Linked DNA regions of Homo sapiens: region 2 is linked to region 1. Evidence: promoter capture Hi-C in human tissues and cell types (Jung and others, 2019). All regions are on one chromosome and are shown on one strand. The core of a region is centred on a gene start or on the middle of the fragment in contact, and the rest is flanking DNA. Distances in the headings are between cores, read along the strand shown. Region 1 holds the start of BTAF1 (B-TFIID TATA-box binding protein associated factor 1). Region 2 overlaps LOC124902479 (a long non-coding RNA gene).

What was found. Contacts are between HindIII fragments. The study calls those that stand out against the background at their distance.
Region 2: a fragment that was not itself captured here is called in contact with the fragment with the promoter of BTAF1 in region 1 in 1 of the 25 tissues and cell types used here (dorsolateral prefrontal cortex).

The regions. Positions count from the first base shown.
Region 1 is chr10:91,921,185-91,928,537 of GRCh38, forward strand. BTAF1 (B-TFIID TATA-box binding protein associated factor 1) reads left to right here and starts at 2,586. Exons shown (of 38, transcript NM_003972.3): 1 at 2,586-2,906. The coding sequence starts at 2,893. RefSeq lists enhancers at 1,328-1,861, 2,209-2,318, 2,929-3,128 and a silencer at 2,569-2,868. The HindIII fragment of the contact is 3,578 bases long and covers 1,355-4,932 here.
Region 2 is chr10:91,013,658-91,021,108 of GRCh38, forward strand. The region is part of intron 1 of LOC124902479 (a long non-coding RNA gene); the gene reads right to left. Among named protein-coding and RNA genes, the nearest start is that of LINC00502, 28 kb to the right of the region's middle. The HindIII fragment of the contact is 3,896 bases long and covers 1-3,815 here.

The sequences.
Region 1 (7,353 bases), core at 1,336-3,835:
CTGTTGGGATGCTGCATAATACAAGGTATATTCATTGGATTTCTTTTCAAAACCTAAATAATTCTTAACTCAGAAAACCATCTGGCAGGGGTGATGAACTGGTATAGATAACGGTGGTGAACTGGTACTATTATTATCCCCGTTTCACAGCTGAATAAATTGAGACTAGAAATTGCCACTTACTCAAGTTTCCATTGTTAACAAAAACAGTAAGCAATGTAGTTAATAATATTTTTGAGGGCTTCTCGTGGCAGTCACTTGGTTAAATGTTTTATGTGCATTAATTTAATCATCACCGCAACCCTATGAGTACTATTATTATCCTCATTTCCCAGATGAAGCTTAGAGAGGTTCTAAAATTCCCCCTGGAGACACTGCGATTCAGTGTGGTGAGAAAGGATTTAAAAACAAGCCGGTCCAATATCAATATATTTGATTATTACACTATCCTTTACAAATCTACACCACCAGTCCTTTCCTCTCTTCTAATGCCATTTAGACTATATACCCAATTATCTGATAATAAAAAGATTTAAAAAATATAACTAAGATCATTTTACTCACTTGCTTAAAACTCTATGACTTTCTACTTCATATGGAGCAAAGTCCAAATTCCTTACGATGATCCCTTTCTACTTCTCCCATCTCATTTCCCAACAGAGCAGACTTCTCTTACGCCTTTGCACTACGTATACCCTCTTCCTGGAAGGCTCCCAGATTGTCACACATTTAGCTACCTCTTGTCATTTAGGGCTCAGCTTAAGCTAATCCTGTTTTTCCCTGATTTACCCAGTAAGAGTAGGTCTTTAATCATACCATTAATTCCATCATTCTCTTTACATAGCACATAAATATATTTTCAATGTTTATCTATTTTCTTTTTCCTTTCCTTTTAATGTAAATTCAACCAGAGTAGGCACCTTGTCTGTTCTGGTTTCTTCAGAAGTTCCAGTCTCTCATATGGTAGGTGCTTAATTTTGGCTAAATGATTGCTGTACACGATCAGTAAAAAGTATCTGCTTGTTATTGAATGGTGGGAGATAAACTGATGAGGCAAGTAGGTGACTAAAGTGAAAATGTAAAGATATCTTGAACATCAACTTGATTAGATTTTAATAGCATGAACACCGCCAAGCAGAGTTTCTGATACAGAGAGGTGACAAACATTTGTTGAATGACTGGACAATAAATATTATTACTAGCTTGAATCTTGAGGCAAATTACTTAACCTTTCTGAGCTTAGTTTCCTTGTCTACGAAGATTAAAACTAACTTTTCAAGGCTTCCCTACAAATTATATGGATAATGCATGTCATGTGCCCAGCACACAGCAGGTACTTGTTAGTTTCTTTCTCTTTACATACATATATACTACTTTATGGTTTACAAAGTTCTTGTAAGCTCTTCTAGATTCATGACCTCATTTTATTCCCACAATCTTCTGCAGTACTTCTCATTAGCCTCATTTTACAGATGAAAAACAGACTCAAGGATTGAGACATAGCCTCTTCAGGTAATGAGAAGCCAATGGACATGCTTTATAAGCATAGGAGCGACATGATAAAAAGCAGTGAGGTTTTTTGAAGATTAATCTGTTGGCCTATAAAATGGGCTGAACTGAAAATTGGAGAAATATTATTTTGACTACTAGCATAAAAATCAAGTTTAAGGGCCGGGCGCAGTGGCTCACACCTGTAATCCCAGCACTTTGGGAGGCCGAGGCGGGCAGATCACTTGAGGCCAGGAGCAGGAGACAAGCCTGGCCTACATGGCGAAACCCCGTCTCTACTAAAAAATACAAAAAATTGGCCCGGCGTGGGGCTCGTGTGCCTCCCAGCTACTCGGGAGGTTGAGGCACATTTAGAATCGCTTGAACCCGGTAAGCGCAGGTTGGCAGTGAGCCGAGATCGCGCCACTGCACTCCAGCCTGGGCGACAGAGCGAAACTCGGTCAAAAAAAAAAAATCAAGTGTAAGATGATAAGGGCCTGGCAGAAGTGTTTAAAAGCCTAATGAACTTAAAAATATTGAAAAGCCAGATAAGTCCCCCAAAGGAACAAAAATTTAAAAATGGTAGTTTTCAAATCTGGCTGGCTGAGAAAATGATGGTACAAACAACATAAACAATTGAGAAATCAAACTTGGCAAAATCGTTGGTCAGAAGACCTTCTCTCCAATACCTAGGCAGAACTTCTGGCAAATAATGACAAACATCTGAGCCATTTCTTCAGTGTCATAGCGACTTTTTGCTTTCACTCCTCCCACTGGCTTCACCACCTGGACAAGAGCATGTTAAGGTCCTTCTGATCTTGCTTCCTAGATGCAGTACGGTGGGAAGCAGAATCTGGGTAGTGTGGAATTAGAAACCAAGCTTTCGAAGTTCCAGGACTTGGACTAAATCGCCTTTTTCCTTCTCTGTCAAATAAGGGGACCCTTACTTCACCTCCTTCCCTAGTTTTAAGACTAGACACCCTCTCCACATCAGCACAAAGCGCTTTTATTTAGGCGCGTGCCGCCAAACCAAAGGCGCTCGCGCCGAGCTAAGCTCCTGTCGGTGAGCTTACGTCACTTCCGGCGCGCTGACGCTCAGTTGTGCGTGCCGACGCCCGCGTCAGCAAAGAGCGGAGCTGAGGGTACCCGGTTTGAAGTCGTGCGGGTCGGAGGACTGCCGCCTCCGCTACCGTCTTGGACCCCTGCTTACCGGCCGCCGCGGGGACGAGCTCGGGTAGGCGGCAGGGCAGATGCCCGAGGGCCTGCGCTGGAACGCCCCACGCCGCACCGGCCGCTCCCCTGTGCTCCGCGGCCTGGGCCTGCGCCGCTCAGCTCTCTGGAAACTAGCGCCTCAGCTGCGCGGCGCGTAGGTCGCGGGGAGCTCCGAACCGCCGGCGCCCGGCCATGGCGGTCTCCAGGTGGGTCTTGCTCCTGACGAGCAAACTGGAAGGCGATTCAGGGAAGGCATGGTCTCCTCTTAGAGCCCCCACTCCTAGAGAAGAGCGGTTCTCATTGTCACTGGGCTCTGGAGCTTTCTTCAGTAGACTTCGGAGTTCGCCCCGTGGTCGGCGGGGGTTTGGGCTCGGGTTACTCCTGGGTAAATCGGTTCAATAATGCCTTTTTCTTGTTAATAGACCCCTTGGCACGTTAGAGCTGTTTTTTCTCTTTCCTCACCATGTTTCTGTTCTCTGGTTTCTCTTCCCTCTTTCGATTCTAGGGGAGTCTCTTATCTTTCTCAGTATTCTAAGGCTGGTCCCTAACCTCCATTTCATGGGAAAACTTGGTAGTTACTGTCGATGGAGGGGAAACCTGAATTACTATTATCTAAGAGACCGTCTAATTATGTTACCAGTTTTAATTTACGTTTTTAGGGGTATGTTCTTTCCTGAGATGTTTTTTAAAATTAAGTATAATTTCTCCTTTTGTTTGGCAGTAAACATTCCAACGTCAGCGTTGTAACCTTAAGCCAATTATCGTATTAGCATCATTTTCCGTAACTAAGGCGTGGAAGATAAATCACAGATCTTATATTCTTTTGAAATATTGCCTGTCAACAGGAAAGCCCAGGAAAACTATAGAAAAACTAACGACATTTATTTGTATAGCTATAGGAGAAACATTACTTTTTCCTCCGGTATGATAGAATGGTTGGAAAGCTTTTGTAAGCGGAATTTGGTGACCCTCTGTACATGTAATTAAGGGATAGTTCCTCTGTGATAGTGATCGGATGGATTCACCAAGTTCCTTAGAGTTGATATGGTAACTTTTAATGAGAATTGGATTCTTTTACCATATAGACTGAAGGAATAAATGATGAAAACAAATAGTTTTCATTTTTTTATAATTAACTGAACACATTCTTTGAGCGTATTAAGTGCACAAGTTTTATCTGTTTTGCAAGGGAAAGGATAACCCATTCCTTACAGACTCCCTAGATGACTGATGAAATAGTGTGTGGGAGAAGCCCATGGGAGTTGGGTGAAGGGGGTTGCTAGGTACCGTAGTATGGGGCATCTGATTTTTATTTTATAATCTATTCAATGTGAGGAAATTTTTTTTTAAATAAAACTGCCTTGAGAGAATACAAGTGACATTTTACATTTTTGCAAATATAGAAAGGTGTATCTTCTAATTTGTTACCTCCCATATAAATGCATGAATATATACATTGTAAATGCATTGATATGTAAACTTAATATAACATTTATCAGGTAATAGTGTTTAAGGAGATGAGTACTTCTTTTCTTAGAGCAACCTGTGCATTTTCACAGGATTGGATGTAGCTTTATAAAGACAAAATGAAAGTGTTTAAAAAGAACCTAATTTTCGGGCAACGCTAATCTCTTTTTTTTTTTTTGAGAAGGAATCTGGCTCTGTAGCCCAGGCTGGAGTGCAGTGGCGAGATCTCGGCTCACTGCAAGCTCCGCATCCCGGGTTCAGGCCATCCTCCTGCCTCAGCCTCCCAAGTAGCTGGGACCACAGGCACCCGCCACCACACCTGGCTAGTTTTTTGTATTTTTAGTAGAGACGGGTTTCACCGTGTTAGCCAGGATGGTCTCGATCTCCTTACCTCGTGATCCGCCGGCCTTGGCCTCCCAAAGTGCTGGGATTACAGGCGTGAGCCACCGCGCCCAGCCAACACTAATCTCTTTACGGAATTTTAGGACAGTTAATATTTCTCAATGACTGAGTGGGTTTTGAAGGTACTGTCTTTTGTTCTGGATGTTGTGTTTCAAAGAGTAGCACTCTTTTTCTGTGGATTTTTTTCTCGTTCACTTTTTTAAAAGCCTGTCATGTTTTTATGGAAGAGCTATTTCTGTGCTTAGTTTCCTTGGGCTCAGTAGTAAGCCCAAGGAAAACATTTTGAGACACTTGTGTGTTTTGGGGATAGTGTCAATTCTTGACTTTTTCACCTGTGGATTTCTTTGAATGGCAAATTTTAGTTTCAAGCTGGCCTTCTCCATGCACGAAGCACAGTTCTGTGCTAACTAAACTTCCTTTCTCTCCTGTTGGTGCAGACTCATTTTAATACTATTTTACGTAAAATAGGTGGAAAATAGCCCAGGAGATAAAAATCATATGCTAAAATCAAATCTAAAATATTTTTTGCACTGTTTATTTCATATGCATAACTGAAGAGAAACTGTAATATTTTTAGGACATTTCCACCAGAATTTCCAACAGATGGGAAATAGTAAGTTAGTACCATTATTCCCTCAATTGTCTGGTCAAGAAATTTGAGAATGTTCTTTGACTTCCCTTTTCCTCCCACACCCCATGTCCAGCCAGTTACCAAATCCAATCCTGTATATTCTGCCTTTCTAATCTTTCTCCAGCTGATCATTTTTCTTTCTATACCAGTTACCACAATCCTAGAACATGCCACCATCTCTAGTCCAAGACACCTTTAGAGAGACGCTTCCCTTTTGTCACTGTAAAGCTACATCCAATCTTTTGAAAATACACACTCAACCCTAGGAAAGGAAGTACTCATCTCCTTGAACATTGTATCACCTGATAAGTCTCATAGTAAGTTTATGTATCAATGTATTTGGTATTTGGACATGTTTAGTACAAGACAGGAGCCTCTCTCCTTTTCCTGCCTTCCATGGCATCTCATTTCAATCTGTTCTTCGCTTCAGTCATATTATTTACTGATTTGAAGATTTGAACATGAACATGGTAATCTTTCTAATTAATACCTTTAGTTGTTTCCTATTGCCTTAGGATAAAGTCCACATTCTCAAACAAACATATCTTACCAAGTCCTTTGTGATCTGGTTCCTGTGTCATCTTTTTAGATTCATCTTGTGTCAACTTCTCTGTACTTCCCCTTCACCTTCTTCTCTCTTCTATCCTCCACCCTCCCCAGAATTCATTTTGTTACCCCCTACTGTTTATCTTTGGAACACTTCTTAGCCCCATCTCAGGTATGGCTAGTTCTGACCTTAGTGTGTTTTTTTGTTTGATTTTTTTTTTTTTTGAGACAGAGTTTTGCTCTTGTTGCCCACGCTGGAGTGCAATGGTGCGTTCTTGACTCACCATAACCTCCACCTCCCGGGTTCAAACGATTCTCCTGCCTCAGCCTCCCGAGTAGCTGGGATTACAGGCATGCACCACCACACCCGGCTAATTTTGTATTTTTAGTAGAGATGGGGTTTCTCCATGTTGGTCAGGCTGGCCTCGAACTCCTGACTTCAGGCGATCCACCTGCCTCAATTTTTTGATCTAAGCTTATATATTACCTTGTTCAGGACATTTTCTCTGGTTTTACTTCATCTGAGCTATTTGCACCAATACATATTCCTATCAGTCATAATATTTATATTTTGTAATTGGTTAATTGTTCTCTTACTTGCTGGATTAACATAAACTCTGAGAGAAGGAAATGTGTCTTTGATTTTTCCATGCTCAGAATGCCTGGCTCCTAGTGGGTGTTCAGTACATTTAAAAAAAAAATGAATGAATGATTTTGCTTCTTGCTTTGGTACCTTTTGAGTTGCCATATGAGTTGCCTCATAAAGCAAAATAATGGTATTCAAAGATATAACAATTATTATTTAAATTATTCACAAGAAACACTGAAAGCCTGTAACATATACTAATTTGTTTTTTGCTGAGGTTGACTTTGTGGAAGCAAGTCAAGTAACTAGTGAATGACTAGCTGACTTTCCAGCATCCGCATCTTAGGGACAACATTGTTCTCTACTCCTACATTTGTAGGAGTATGATTTTACCGTAATTTGTGCATAGTAGACTATTTCCAGTGTTTTTCAGTGAGTACTTTTGAGTTTAACTGCCTTTTTTCTTTTTTTTTTTTTTTTTTTGCAGTAAGGAAAACTTTCACTATAGCTTTTTAATATTGGCCATTTTCTAATTTTAACAATCATCGGAATATTTTTTTCTTTTTAAAGCTATCTCCTATAGGAAGGCAATTAGAATAATTTTTGAAGTTTATAATATAGTAAATTCTGTGATAGCATGGCCATTTATAATGCAAAATTGATATGATGTATTTTATGTGGTCAAATTTTTTAGACCCTGCTTAATAGGCTTGGTTTTACTGTACTTTCAGTTGTAAGAATGTGGCAGATTATGAAATGCATGGCCAACTCTTGATCTGTAGCTGAATTACATCTTGCAAAAATAACTTTGTTACTCTCTAAAATTGTAAATACAATCATAGCATTTGAAGTTCTCTGTCAAATCCAGTGAAATATCACTGGAAAATGATATGACTCTTTTAAACCCTTAGTAAAAGACCCAAAATCCAAATGTAGGAGTAGAGAACAATGTTGTCCTTAAGATGCGGATGCCGGAAAGTCAGCTAGTCATTCACTAGCTACTTGACTTGCTTCCACAAAG
Region 2 (7,451 bases), core at 618-3,117, 910 kb before region 1:
GGGTCGAAAATAAGGTCCTAGGGCCCGATTCTAAAAGACTTTGTGAGTCTTGTTGGTATGAGGCATCTCCTCTAGGTAACAGGGAATCATCAAAGGTTGTTAAGAGAAATGGGGGTTGATAAGATAAGATTCATGTTCAAGCTTTAAAAAATTATGTCACAAATAGAACTGAAGAATAGAGACTGGCAACATGGAGATTCATTATGAGGCTGAGGTCATAGTTCGGGTGGAAGCTGACCAGAACTTGAACTAAGAGAGAGGCAATTGGGACGAAGAGGAGCAAACCAATCCTGGGTCGATATACTCCATCCTAGAAAACATTTTCATGTTAAAGCATTCATTAGTGCCCAAAAGGAGCTTCAAAACTAAGTTTCATTCATCTTTCTCAAAACTTTGTTAGAGTCTGTTTAACTGTGTTAAAATTCATGCCCTAGTGGAGCAGACTTTTCTCATCCCAAATTATTTTGGAAAGTATAGGCTGAATTGCTAAGGAAAATGCTGAAAGGGAAGTGTGAGGACATGGGACAAAGTGCAAGTAAACACTCTGGGATGCAGGAAACGAGCTTTTCAAAGAAGAAAGGGCAGGAGCCTGGGGTAGAGAAGTGGAAAAGACCTGAGTCTGAAAGAGATGTGACACCTGGGAGGATTTTTCTTTCTTCTTGTAATTGAAGGGGAGAGACAGAGGAAAATTCTGGAAGCAAAGGCTTAGAGGTTCCCAAAGGCAAAGATCTCCAGGAGCCAGCAGCAGGTGACAAATAAATAAAGCAGACTTGCTTTAAGAACATGGAGGTGATCTCAGCAATTTGGGAGGCCAAGGCGGGAGGATCATTTGAGCCCAGGAGTTTGAGACTAGCCTGGGCAATATGGTGAAACTCTGTCTCTACCAAAAAATACAAAAACTAGCCAGGTGTGATGGCACATGTCTGTGGTCCCAGCTATTTGGGAGGCTGAAGTGGGAGGATCAACAGAGCCTGGGAGGTCAAGGTGGCAGTGAGCTGTGTTCATGCCACTGCACTCCAGCCTGGGTGACAGAGTGAGAGCCTGTCTCAAAAAACAAACAAACAAACAAACCCATAAAACAGACTGGGCACCATGGCTCAGGCCTGTTCCCAGCATTTTGGGAAGCCGAGCAGGCAGATCACCTGAGGTCAGGAGTTTGAGACCAGCCTGGACAACATGGTGAAAACCCATCTCTACTAAAAATACAAAAATTAGTCAGGCATGGTGGCAGGCGCCTGTAATCCCAGCTACTCAGGAGGCTGAGGCAGAAGAATCGCTTGAACCCAGGAGGTGGAGGTTCCAGTGAGCCAAGATCACACTATTGTATTCTGGCCTGGGTGACAGAGTGAGACTCTGTGTCAAAAAAACAAAAACAAAAACAAAAACCACAAAACAAAACATGGAGGCCAGGTGGCAGAGGCTCATGCTTGTAATCCTAATGCTTTGGGAGGCTGAGGTGGGAGGATCGCTTGAGCTCAGGAGTTTGAGATCAGCTGGATAATACAGTGAGACCTCGTCTCTATTTTTATTTCTAAAAAACTTAAAAAAATGTATGGAAGTGCATGGTTTATGAACGGGGCAGATTCCCACAAGCTCCAGCCAACTGTTGTCATGTGGAAATGCAATGTTCCTGATCTTGTGATTTTTCAAGAGAAGTCAGAAATCTAGATATTCCTGTAAAATCATCCACTGTTCTTTAATGTGGGCAACAAATTCGTTTTTTTTCTAAACAGCAGGCTGGCCAAATAAAACATATGTGGCTGCATTTGGCCCTTGGGTGGCCAATTTGTAACCTCTGGTCTAGAAGGAATGGTAGGTTATTTGAATAAATCCTACCAGCCATGGTGGGTATGCAGCCTACTTGTGCTAGAATGTAAACAAGTCATGGGAGGATACCATTTCCCAGAAAAGCAATTCCCATTAAATCCACTGGCTAAGTTTGGAAAGATAATACAGAACGTACTGATATGTAAGTTTAGTTTTGCTTTGTTGGGAAAATTTTTATGAAGCCGAGCTAGAAGGAAGCAAACTGATCTTCCCTGAAGTCATTTCTATTGTATATCTTTAAGAAGTCAGGGTTGAGGAGAGAGTCACTTTGGAAAAGATCATAGCCTAATGTCTTTTTCAGGAACTAGCACTGGAAATTAAAGTCAATTATTTCAACCTGTATCACAGACTGTATATAAAGAGTTCCCATGAATCAACAATGAGACAACATCCAAAGGAACATGAACAAAGAATATGCATAATTCTCAGAAGAGGAAATATTATAGGTTTCTACCTATAAAAATGCTTGACTTCACTTAGCATGTGAGAAATCCAATTTATAAACAATGTTTTTCACCTATAATATAGGAAAAGTTAACAAGAACTTCATATATATAATACACTGTGTAGGCAAAGGTGTTGGGAACTTGGCACTGTCATACATTGGTGGTGAAATTTTAAGTTGGCACGACTGCTAAGGAGTGCAAATTGGCAGGATCCATTAAAATAAAAAATACATATATGCCTTGACCTAGACATTTCTAAATCTAAGAATTCATTACCTACCCTTATTCACACTTGTGAAAGGACATATATATACACACATGTGTATATAAGAATATTCATTATAGCATCATTTATAATAGCAGATGATTTGAAATAATCTAAATGTCCATTAATATGGAAATAAAATAAATGATAATAGACCCAAACAATGGCATCCACTGAAGCAATAAAAAAAGAAGCAGCTCCATACCTACTGAAAAGAACGCCTCTCCTATATATATATATTAAGAGCAAGGTTAAGAAGTGTAAATTGTATAACGCCATTTGGTATTGCATAAACATATACTTAGATATGCACAGTGTATCTCTAGAAGGCTTAAAAGCATCTTTTAGAAAGGGATGCCTCTGGGGAGGGCTGAGTGGTGGGAGACAGACTTGGGAAGGAAAGGTTTTGCTCTATACTCTTCCATATATATATATACACAATAATACATAGATAATACATTATGTATTGTATAATGTGGTAATATGCATAATATAATGTATATAATTTATTTTTATATCTATATTTACATTAATCCATGAATTTTTTTTCTTTTGAGATGAAGTCTTGCTCTGTCACCCAGGCTGTAGTGGAGTGGCGTGATCTTGGCTCACTGCAACCTCTGCCTCCCGGGTTCAAGTGATTCTCCTGCTTCAGCCTCCTGAGTAGCTGCAATTACAGGCACTTGCCACCACGCCCAGCTAATTTTTGTATTTTTAGCAGAGACGGGGTTTCACCAAGTTGGCCATGCTGATCTCAAACCTCTGACCTCAGGTGATCCACCTGCCGCAGCTTCCCAACCCATTAAAATTTTTAAGAAAAAAAGTTATACTAACATTTTAAAAAATCACTAACTTATTGTCAAGCCTCTCTAAAATCTCCTTTCATTTTTGAATTCCAAGGTCAAAGTTTAGGTTCAAATTTTTACTCTTACTTTTGAATTCTGAGGTCAACCTTTTGAGTTACTAGTAAGTCTACCAAAATTTTAGCTGTTGAACTAATTGCAGTTATTTTTCTTTTGCTATCTCAGATTCGGATTCAAACCGCCATTACTTTTTCTATCCAACATGCTGGTAAAAGCACATCCAAACCCACAAATGTGAAAAACAATGAGACCTAGAAATATAATTCATCTGTAGAAAAGTTCTGAGTCAGTTCCTTTTCAGGGAGTCCAGACGGTTCCTGAGCTTCTCTCTGAATGATTTCTCTGAGTCAAATAAAATGACAAGGCAGGCATTTAAATGACAAGAAGCCAACCCTGGGTCTGGTGTGCTGGGAGTGGAAAATTCTGTGAAGTTTTTATGTTCCCACTGTGTACAAGCACAGATTATCTTTCTCAAGCAGACACAGAAGCATATAGAAGACCCAGAAATTCCATTAGTTTCACAGTCTAGTGCCAATAAATTTAATAAGAAATGGAAGCAAGGTTATTTATTTGTTTTACAGCATTCTAAAGACTGCACAGAAAGAAACTCTTAGAAGAGTTTAGCTCAGTAATTGACTAAAACATTCGTGATTATTCACCAAATCCCCAAATATTCCCTGAGCACCTTCTAAGTACTAAGTCACTGGGCTAGCCACCATGGTAGGATTAAAATGATGGGTAAGGAGTTTCTAATTTAATTCCATGCTTTCCAAAGACTCCTCTGAGGAGCACTAAAATCTGAGGAATATTAATATTATTATAAGACAAAAAGATTTTCTTGGTAATTAAGAATCAGAAAATAATCAAGCTGTTTTAATTGGCACAGCACTTTTCAGATCTTTTACTATGCTCACACACAATGTGAACCTTCTAGAGAGGGGTATGGTATGCAGTCTTTCCTAAAGCATACCCCAAATAATTCTAAAATTATTCAAACACAATTAACTTTTTTGTTTTGGGCAGCTGCAGGAACTAATATCTATGTAACATACATTAGGAAAATAATAACCTTAAATGCCGAGACAAACATAAATACATATGTGAAAACAAAACTGTCCTAAAGCAAACTGGGGTTAACTGCCCAAATACTTGACCTGGATGTAAGAAACAGCTTGAGTTTAAAAGATAGCAGTGGTCTAGAGTTATAGAAGCTGGGTGGAGCAGGAGGAGCTGGGTCTAAGCCTGAAAAAAAGGAAAGTGTCCGTCAAGGAGGAGAAGCAGCTGAAAAGTGATGGAGCTATTTGGAGGATGAAGGAGACCAGCCAGCCAGAGCAGAGGGTTCATCATATAGGAAGGACAAGGAGTTAAGTCTAGATAGGACCAGATTGAAACAGGTCATGACTGTCAGGTTAGGAAGTCTGAACCTTACCTTGCAGGCAAGAGGGAGGCTTTAAAAGCCTCTAAGCAAGATACTGAAATGTTCAAAGTGGTCTTCTAAGAAAATCACTCTGGTGCTCATTTGAAGAAAGGCATTGGAGTATGAGGGTGAGTGGAGCGGGAAGAGAAGATGGAAGCCTGGTGCTGACTGTGAGATGAAGGTCTAGAATAGGGTTAGTGCACAGACTAAGAAGAGCATTTTAATGAAGAATTGACAGAAAGGGAAGACTGGATGTCAGAACTGTATAAATGGGTCATGGGGTTTGGCTTCTGGGTGATAAAGTACCATTTTTATGGGGAGTATAGTTTTTGAGATGTCATATTGCATCTTACTCCTTCCCCATCTCCAACCCCCCACTAATTCCACAAAAGCAGGGAGGCCTTTCCTATTTCTTTGTCTGAAGAGCTGTCAGCTCTACCTGTCTTTTTTAAAAGATGAAGCTCACCAAGGGATGGTGGTGGATATCCCAGAATGATGACCAATAATAGCTGAGAAAGGAGTTTTTTCAATGTCAGGGGAAGAGAAGGCAGCAGAGGTGGATTTGAAGAGACTAGGAAGAGAGTCCCATGAGAAGCGTGCACCCGTCTCAGCTCCCAGCTGCCTTCCAGGAAGGTGGCTAAATTCAGAGAGGAGGGCTGTAAGGTGCACCTGGAGAAAACTAAAGATAGGTCCTCCCAGGAGGAGGAGTTGAAGATTCCCATGTCTCACATTTAGAAGTGTGTATGGATAAGGAGCAATGGAAATGCTAACTGCTATGTGAATATAATCCACTTTGGAGAGCCATTTAGCTCTAGCTAGTAAAACTGAAGATTCCCAGAAAACATCTAGGTATATACTCACATATAGGCCCAAGGAAAAAGGTGTAAGGATGCAGAAGGGCAAAGTTGTTTGTAAGACTGGAAAATTGGAAACAGCTTAAAAATCCAAGGGTAGGATGTTTAAATACATTGTGTATATTCACAAAATGGACTGCTAAATGAATGAACTAGAGAAACATGGATACATTTCAAAAAACAGTGTTGAATATAAAGAAGAAGTTTTGGGAGGAAGTTACCATTTACGTTAAGATTTCCAATATATAAACCATATGCAAGTATACTATGTATTATCTATGGGCATACAAACAAAGCATCTCAAACCCGCATGAGGTCCACAATCATTAAAGTCAGGATAATGCTTGCATTTGGAGTAAGGGAGGTAAAAAGGAAATTGGATTAGGAAGGATCATAGAAGTTTCAGGTATATCTAATGATTTAAATCTAAAGGAACCGTAGAAAAATGTTAAGATCTGTCAAAACTTAGTAGTGGGTACACGGATGTTTGTTATAGTATCCTTTGTTTATCTGCACTTTTGAAATATTTTACAAAAGTATTTTTAAATTATTTTAACAGCTCTATTTAGGTATAAATGAAGAAACTATCATGTTAATAAAGATAGTGAACATATCTATCACCCCAAAAATTTTCCTCATGCCCCTTTTGAGGAGATCTGGCATTTGGTATTTGTTCATGCCTGTAATCCCAGGTCTTTAGGAGGCCAAGGAGGGCAGATCACTTGAGGTCAGGAGTTCAAGATCAGCCTGGCCTACATGGTGAAACCCCGTCTCTACTAAAAATATAAAAATTAGCCAGGCATGGTGGCATGCGCCTGTAGTCCCAGCTACTCAGGAAGCTGAGACAGGAGAATCACTTGAGCCCAGGAGGTGGAAGTTGCAGTGAGCCGAGATCGCACCACTGCACACCAGCCTGGGTGACAGAGTGAGACTCCATCTCAAAAAAAAAAAAAAAAAAAAAGATGGGGCCTTGCCCTTATGATAAATGAATTGAACTTCCTGCCAGCTTGGGAGAAAGGGATTGCAGAGTCAGATTTATATTAATTTAAAGAAAAATAAGTAATGTGATGTTTCTTGACCTTTTGAGTTTATGATTAAAATTCATACTTGCTACAAACAGCTAGGGAAATTGGGTGGAAGAAAGAGTTTAAAGGTAACAGTGGAGACATGGAGTGGGCAATTAAACATGAAGGCTAGAGCTGCAAGGAGAGGTCAGCACTGGAGGTTGAGGCTTTGGTGGACATTTGCCTGGTGCAAATAGTTAAGACCATGTGAATAGATGAGATCTCCAAAAGAATGAGGGTAGGCAAAGAACAGCCCTGGATGTAGGTCCCTGCCTTGGCATGTGCAATTGGGATGGGTACAGAAAAAGGAGATAGTAAAGAAGATCTAACTGTGGTGAGGCAGGTGGTGAATTAGTATATACTAATGGTCAGGAAGCCAAGGGAAGAAAGAGTAAGGCAAATAGCATCACATACCTTAGAGAAGAAAAGCAAATTGAGGCTGAGGAGCCATTAGATCCAGTGACTGAGAGATTGCTGATGTCCTAAAATGTGCAATTTCAGTAAAATTGTGAAAACAGAATTCCACTTTAGACACTTAAAAAGAGAGTGGAAATGAAGACACCTCCGAATAAATATAGATCATTCCAAGAGTTTTGCTGTGTAAAGCTGAGAAATGCAGGAATGGTGTGAGCAGGACCATTAGGAAAAAGTGGAAGGATTTACTGACAGAAAATCCTAGGATGTATGTTTAATAATGACCACCTTCTCCATCCTC